Regions from separate parts of the Homo sapiens genome. Here region 2 is linked to region 1. The links are contacts of gene promoters, found by promoter capture Hi-C in blood cells and fetal thymus (Javierre and others, 2016). All regions are on one chromosome and are shown on one strand. The core of a region is centred on a gene start or on the middle of the fragment in contact, and the rest is flanking DNA. Distances in the headings are between cores, read along the strand shown.

Evidence for each region. The method cuts DNA at HindIII sites, captures the fragments that hold promoters and counts their contacts. A CHiCAGO score of 5 or more calls a contact.
Region 2: a fragment that was not itself captured here is called in contact with the fragment with the promoter of XKR3 in region 1 in 1 of 17 cell types (naive B cells); the score reaches 5.2 in naive B cells.

What each region holds. Positions count from the first base shown.
Region 1 is chr22:16,823,233-16,827,419 of GRCh38, forward strand. It overlaps XKR3 (XK related 3), which reads right to left and starts at 2,179. Exons shown (of 4, transcript NM_001386955.1): 1 at 2,059-2,179. The HindIII fragment of the contact is 7,309 bases long and covers 1-2,716 here.
Region 2 is chr22:16,952,176-16,956,362 of GRCh38, forward strand. No RefSeq gene overlaps it. Among named protein-coding and RNA genes, the nearest start is that of GAB4, 54 kb to the right of the region's middle. The HindIII fragment of the contact is 1,339 bases long and covers 1,033-2,371 here.

The DNA of each region.
Region 1 (4,187 bases), core at 929-3,428:
CTGTACAATGATAACATCATTAGAATCTTCCTGGGGAGATAGCAGTGTAGAGAAAATAATACATCGGCAGCAGGAAGAAGAGTTCGTGGTACACAGTGAAGTTTGGAAAGGTGTTCCTATTGACATCATTATAATCATGACCACCATCATCATTTCTTAGAAACACAGAATTGACAGGACTCACTGATTAAGAGTATTTGACAGTGAAATATGAGAGAAGAGATTGCCTTGGTCAATTCTTGAGTATCCATCTGGTAGAGCTTGGAAAAGTGGTGGAAGCAGAATTTTTGGGAAAAACATTTAAAATAAACTTAAACACCTTACTTTTGATCTGCGTGATGTACAGAACTGGTGATGAACAGGGCAACCTTGTCACTTTAAAATATATCTGATTGCCAATTTGCAGCATCACAAGACTAGTAAACATTTACTGTGAAACATTCAGAAAATACAAATTACCAAAAGAATAGAGTTTACCTATTGCTTAGTTTTCTCCAGCAATGGAGAGATCAATAATAATAAATCTGACACCAATTCAAAATATGAAACTTTAGGGTACTCAAGTACTAAAAGGTTTTTTTTTTTTAATGTAAACAAACTCACAGGTAACAGTGTCCAAAGTAGAACATTAGAAATGAGAGATTCTTGATGTAACAACAGGTCCAGGTGATGATAATTCAAGGCTGCTGAAACAAGTGAATGAAATCTTGAAGGGATCTTAATGATGAGAACTAATTCTTGCTTGTTGGAGTGATGAGACAAATGGTCCAAAAATTAAAAAACAAAACAAAACAACAACAACAACAAAATAATTTGTTGCTTGCAAATAGGCCCTAGAAGCAATATGAAACAGTCTTCAAATGAATAGATGAGAAAAATCGCATCTGACCTAATTAATTCAATGTCACAAAAAGAGAGACAATGTGTTATTTAAAGGGATGAGACAGAAAAAACACTCTTGTAAATAAAGAGAGAAGAGTACAATGAAGTACCCATTTCCACCTACGAGGAACGGGCATGTAAGAAAATACGGGAATCATGTGCAGATGATATAATTACTTATCTAGAGGCACCATAAAAATGTTTTTCCCCAAATAATGTCCATTAGGGATAAAATTTTAAGAAAGAAAGGATGTTACTTTTAAAGACAATTGTTAAATACCTAGTAAATAGAGTAAGTGAGTAAGAAAAGCAGAAAGAAAATAAGTTGCAGCTACCAGATACCCACAAAAAGAAAGAAAAGGGAAAAAGAAGGAATGGAGGGAGAGAGCACAAATGGAAAGAAAAAGGGTGGGAAGGAGGAGGGAGAGTAGAGAGAGAAATTACAGAAGTAGGCGAGGGGTATAAAGGAAAGCATGGAAAGACAACTGCAGAGACATCAGAGTTTCTGGGCCTCAGGATAGGGGAAAAATACATCCAACATTATAAGAAATATATCCCACTCTCTCCCCAGCAATCCATACATCGAATATGATATTAATGCAGATTGCACCTTTCTGGCTGCCCCAACCACTTCCTTCTCCTTTGGACTCACAGAAGGACCTCTATAATTTATTTCTGGAAAACACTTATGAAAATATGCACATATGAAAAGGGCCACAGAGTTTAGAAATGGGTCTTCCAGAGTCTAAAATTCAAGGTAGAAAGTGAAAGTGAAGTCACTGAACAATGGAATTTAGGCATGTGTTTGTGATTAAGTGAACTTGTTTCTTGTACTCACATAGCCAGTGCATCACTGCATCTGAATAACAAAAAATATGGTAGATTTCTGCCCCTTTGAGATTTCACTTAAATACGAAGCACTTTCTCCTTCTGATGTTTAAAAACATGCTGAAATTTGTAATATATTAGTAACAACCACTGTCCCACCCAAATGCTAAGCAGCTGCTTCTCTTCTCTGAAAATCAGAATCAAGAGAGGGAGTTTCTAGGCTCAAGACTCGGGAAAAGCCACCCCTGATATCCAGAGATTTATGTTAAGATCCCCAGCTGAGACAGGCAGAGGTCAAGGTAGGCTGAAGAAGCTGATCTGAGATGGTCGAGGGCTGCTCCTACTTACCTTGCCTATTTGCCACCCTCACAGTTTTGAAACTCGTTCAAAAAGTAAATGCTTTTGTTCACCTCTTTAACAGCACCATTTCTGGTCTCGTTTTCAACACTACGTCCTTTGCTTTGCAGGTAAAATTGCTTATTTTCTTGCCTTTTTATGACTAAAGTAGGCTTGCAGTTTGGAGTCAGGTGACTGCACTAGCTGAGTCATCTTCCCTTGAAAACACCAAGGCATTCTTCCTCCCTACAGAGTCACACATCTTAGTTCCCCAAAACGCTCAGCCACAATTTGACTTCGATTGTCCTACATTTAAGGTGATATTTTTCTGATTCTCCCATTAACTCCCTCTTCTCTTCGCACCCATGGCCCATCTTTTGCTGCTGTCTAGTAGCCATTCATCCCCTCCCATCACAAAAGAAGTCTGTACTTCCTTCAGACAGAGCAACAAGAAAATTCCCCAGAAAGCAAACAATTAAACAAATTTTAATTTTGCCTTTTTTAAATGAAAATTCTGTCAAAATTGATGAACCACATCTGGTAGGAGCACCTGTTTTATTTTCACAAAGAGTTTTCTGATCTGGACATTTTTGTTACTTACTGCTAATATGGAAAATTTTGAACTAAACAAAATACACCCCCAAAACTTAAACTATGTTAAACCAAGACAAGCTTCTAACAATGACACCTCTTTCCAGTATGAGAGAACTGCCTCCTACAGTATAAGAAATATCAAAATCATTATTTTTTTATTCCACACATATTCAACACTTAAAGCCAAGGCATTAGAATTTTAATATACCACCTCTCAAGCATGAACATATAAAAATTCTTACTGTAAATGGGGCATGATTATTTTTCAAAGAGAAGAAATATTTTATTCAATTCTAAGATTAATTCACAAATTTGACTCCTGTTTTATAATGATAACTTTACGTTGCAGGACACAGAGATTATTCCTTAAGAAATATTTTTTAAATAGATATTTGGCTCTTGGAACCAAATAATAAAATTTTCTGCTTAGACATACATACAAATTTACTTTACTTAAAACACTTTCTTGTTATTATTACATTTTTAAATCTCCCACTCTTTGGGATCTCCTTATAAGTAGGTCACTTGCTTTTAAAATCTTACATAATTAACATGTCAGATATTTACAGACATACCAAATGAAAGTATTATTTATTCTATGATATGAATAAAAAATGTTTTGAATAGATACATACATGAATAACTTTTTATTCTGAAATCTAATCAGTTTTATTCATATTTGATTTTATTTTAATTTTTTAAGGTATGTTTCACATAATACAAAATTACATTATTCAAAATTATATTATTAAAACATTTCTATCATCAAACAGGAAACCCCATTATCTACTTAACAGTTCTTTCTATTCCCCAGCCCCTGACAACCATTAACCTACCTTTTGTCTATATGGCCATGTCTTTTTACCATATATGTTTTACACTGCATCAGTTTTCAATCCAACATGCCAAGCTGAGAGAGTTTTTAAAATATTTATTTTTATTTTTTTGCACCGTCCAATTACCAGGCCCTATGCTCCTCGCACCAATCTAGTAAGACTGTGTGTGTCAAGGAGAAAATTATGTTTATTTCAGGGATTGAGGATATTAATTAATTTATTTATTTATTTATTTATTTATTTATTTATTATTTTCTTAAGACAGAGTCTTGCTCTGTTGCCCAGGCTGGAGTGCAGTGGCACAATCTCAGCTCACTGCAGCTTCCGCCTCCTGGGTTCAAACGATTCTTCTGCCTCAGCCTCCCGAGACCTGGGACTACAGGCACATGGACCACACCTGGCTAATTTTTGTATTTTTAGTAGAGACAGGGTGTCACCATGGTGGTCAGGCTGGTCTCGAACTCATGACCTCATGATCCGCCTGTCCCGGCCTCCCAAAGCGCTGGGATTGCAGGCATGAGCCACCATGCCTGGCCCTCCTTATTAATTTAAAAGATTCTGCAGGCATGAAACTTTTGCAGAATAAACTGTGTAAGTAATCATTCTATATTTTATTTTTACCAGATACATTTCTGAGACTGGAAAGTAAACAGTCTTGGCCAAATTTTTATGTTTGTTGCTAGGTGACCAAAGTCCTCTTGTGATGCCATT
Region 2 (4,187 bases), core at 452-2,951, 130 kb after region 1:
ACTCAGGCATGTAGTTCATAAACACTTGTTTTAACATAAATGCATATTTTTCTTTGTTGAATATTAGAGAATATAGCTCCAGGAAAAAGTGCTACATTTTTCCTGTGGCTTTGGATACCACTTGCCAACAAGCCAGTTTGAGAGTCAAGACAGAAAAGTATAGGATTTTATTGTTTATGAAATTCTTCCACATGTTCTATAAGCACATTATGGTTTGGATTTATGTTCCCTTGCACACAAGCTCTGGAAAGTGCTTGTACCAAGGCACATGCATCAGGCTACGCCAGTTTCTCTGGGAGCAGCAGACCTTGCTCAGGGAGCCATCGTATGTAAATTTCCAGAAGCATTAGGAGCTTAAGAGTAATTTGGGGAATTGTTATTTTCCTAAGAGTATGAAGTTCCATTCTTTGGGAAAAAATGGCATTCTATGTTCTTTTTTCTGTTGTGAATATTTTTCCATCTCTCTCTCTCTCCCTCTCTCTATGTGTGTGTATGTGTGTGTGCATGGTAGGTTCTGTCCATCTGTCTGCCTTTTTGCCCCTATTTGTTTATTGTGTGTGGGGCAAGGAAGACTTGGATAGGGCAGAATTGCAAGAAAAAAGAGGGACTAAGAGAGAAGATGCTGTTATCTCCCCTCTGGCAGCTCTTTTGATTTTTTTTAATCATCTGTGGGAGGTGATTGGCTAATCTGATATATTATCTAATAAATGCTCCTGGGAAATGAGTGAGTTAAACCACTGCTCAAGCAACGTCTTCTGTGGTAGTCAGAGGACATGCACTGGGGAGATGAGGGTATTGGGTGCTAAGCCAGCTCGAAGCTCTGTGGAACCTTGTACAAATCTAGGGCACTGTACTCAGGATCTAGGGACAAGAACAGGGCTAGAGTAACTGTCATAAATGCTGCTTAAATCAATTAAGAAACACTACATTGTGCTTAGGTGTTTTCTTTAAAATATATCATTATTAGAACTAGTGCTTGGTAATATTGCTGCAGGTGCAGCTGTTTAATGTGATAAAGAGTAATGAGGGGAAAGCTTGCTCGTGACCACACCACAGACCCCCAGCACCCTCCCATTGTCCTGACTGTAGGATCATGTTCCAAGGGGGTGACTAATTGTCTTGCAAGTTGACTCTGCAAATCTAAAAGTAGAAGATGAAAGCAGGAACATGATTGTGGGTAAGCACCATGGAAGTATAGAATGCCAAACTAATAGAAGGTAGACATATCCTCACCTGACAGATGAGGAAATCCAGGCCCAGGGAGGTTTACAGGTTGAGTCAGAGAGGCTCACTGACCATGGCCAGACAGCAAGTGAGGACGAGCGCTGGGCCTCACACTGAGGTCTTGATGCCACTGGATTTGGCCAATGGACCAGGGCTGTAGCTGCTGGACTCCTGTAAGAACTTATGAATCCTTCATTCACTGCCATGTGACCTGGCCAATTATTTTCTCTATCTGAATCTTAGTCATTTAATCTATAAAATGGGCATACTTTAAGGTGGTATGAAGGGAAAGGTCACATAAAAGGCCCTCACGTCAAGATGAGAAGCTGGACTGTGTTTGCAGGCAGAAGCTGTTGGCACCATTTGTAGGCAGTCTCCCAGGACTCCAGCCAGGTTGGATGTAGTGAAGACGACTTCCCAGAGGAGATGACTGTTTTCTAGCCCAGTTACTGGGCTGATTCTGGTGCCCACTGCCTTGCCTTGTTTCCTCCTCAGGACTTTCATGCTCCCAGTGAGGATTACACTAAGCAGCAATTATGGCAGGAGGCCTGGATCTCACAGGAGAGCAAGCTGACTGGTTTCTGCCCTGAGCTCATGGCCAAGTCAGTTACGGGCAACACTGTTTTTAATCAATGTGGGTGCCCCATGCTGCGTGAACAGCATCCCTCAGGCCTTGCTCGTGGCTTTTGAATAGATGCTGATTTTGCACTTCCTGTCTGCCCTTGGTTCTCTGCATTATGGTCAATGATAGATGGTAGAAAGGAGTGAGAATGTAGGCTGGAGAGAGTGGGTCTTGCTTTGCATTGCTGACATGATCCCGAGGTCTGTGGGCACATGAAGGCCCCAGACGGCCTCAAGCCATTGCCAAGGCAGTAGGTAGCAACGGGATGAGAACTCAAGATGGGCACAAGGGACGGGGCTGCAGTGGGAGGAGGGGTCCTCACTGGGCTGGTTGATATCACTGACTTTTCTCCATGAGTCCATGGTGGTGGATTGTGTCTTCCTGTGTGGAGCTCCCATTCATTCTGGTTTCAGACATATTTTTGTTTAATGCAACAAATGCAGTATTTATTGTCTATGGCTACCTATTCACTTTATGGCTTGCTTAAAAATCACTCAAAATTTCAGCTTTGATTCTGTGAAAGTAAGCTTTGATCCAGGTTTATAGTATGACTTCAAGTCAGTTTCTCCTCTCTGAGCTTCAGGTTCAGCAGAGGAGGTTGGATGTGATCTCCAAGCTGCTGCTACTTGTTCTTCTCAAACTTCCTGGTGAAGGACTTGTTTTTTTCTAATTTTGGTCTGCTGCAGACCATTACTTTTGTAAAATACAATAAAATGACTTACCAAAAAAAAAATGATCCTGTGCTTATATGGCCATGGTAATATCACAATGCTTTACAGGTTTCTAAATGCTTCCTCCATTTCTTGCCTTGCATTGCCTTGGACCAGCTAAGTGGCCCACACTTTGAGAAGTGCTATTCTATGCAGTGGGCTGTTTGGAGAAATGCATGAGTGATCTTTCCAGATTGTCTAGTGAGAAGAGAAACAAAGCTGGGATCTGGAAATCAGCTTGTTCCAGGGAATATGGGCATGAAGAGGATCTCCTTCCTGTCTGCCACAGGGCCACACCTCTGCCATCAGGAGCCAGTCTACACCACCGTGTCCTCTTCTGTCAGGATAATTCTCATACTGATGCCTGCCTTTCTCATTTGAAGGCAGGGGGATAACTTTGGGTGACTCTAGGGCCAGGGTGCTGAGCAGGGACTGCAGGAGTGAACTGGGGCCGTGTGTTGGAGCCAGATGCACTGCCCTGCATAGGTCTGAATGCCCTGTCCCGGGGAAGCAGGGAGAAAGCGGTGTGGGTAGAATAACTCATGGTGGTTCTAGGGCCAGGACCCCGAACAGGGGCTGCAGCAGTGGACTGGGACAGAGGTGGAGCTTGCTGCTTTGCAGGGGTCTGTATGTTCTTTCCTGGGGAACCACGGAGAAAGGGGTGTGGGGGCTGCTGTGGGTGGGATGATGTTGACATGAACTCTGTGGCAGACCAGAGCCCCAGCCTTAGAACCCTGGCATCACAAGATGTTAGGACACACTAATTTTTGGCTCCTGGGGCTATGGGATGTCAGAGCTAGAAGGGACTTCGGGGGTTACCTTGCTATACCGCTTATTTTCCAAACCAAGGTCATTGCTGTGTTTCTGATCCCAAACACTCTGGGCCAAGTGTTCACCTTCTCTTCCTCCAGGTCCCATGCCTCCAGCCTCACCTTGAACTAGAAATGCCTGTTCTGCCTTCGGCCTGGAGGCCATGGGTGAGGAGAAGCTCCTTTGGGGCCTTTGCTTACCCTGGGCACTCCTGCTTTTTTGTGAAGCTTCAAACACTCTTGGCTTCATTTGAGAACAACTCACAGCCTTTTATTTCCAGGCTGCAGTGGCTCTTTGCCTTCCTGGATCACAGCCAAGTGTGTGCAGGGGGAGGAGTGGGTGGAAAGGAAGCTCTGGTCAGGCCTCCACAGTGACACCCTCCCTGCCCCAGGACCTACCTGCATCTGACTACAAGAGCCTACTTCATGGAAGAAGCTATTGAGCCCTTGTCCATGCTAGCACAGGTTCATGACAGAGACTGTGGGGCCATGGCAGGGCCCCCTCGAGCCCCATTCTGTACTGCTGCCCACATCTCTCTCTCCAGTGATTCCACCTACTGCATTAAGTCTGGGGCCTTCATGTGCTGTAAGTATCATTCATCTACTGTGACCTCTGAGCACCCACATTGCCAGGCATCCCTGGGCTGTTGAGGGTACAGAGGTGAATGAAGAAGGTGAACAAGAAGGGGGAGAATGGCCTGGGACCAGGGACCCACAGGACACCACTACCCTCTCTGTGAAGGCGCTGTGTGGTCTCCAGCTTTGACTTGAACCTGGTCAACTACTTCCTGTTCCCTCAGGCTGACAGCAGAGAACCGCTGC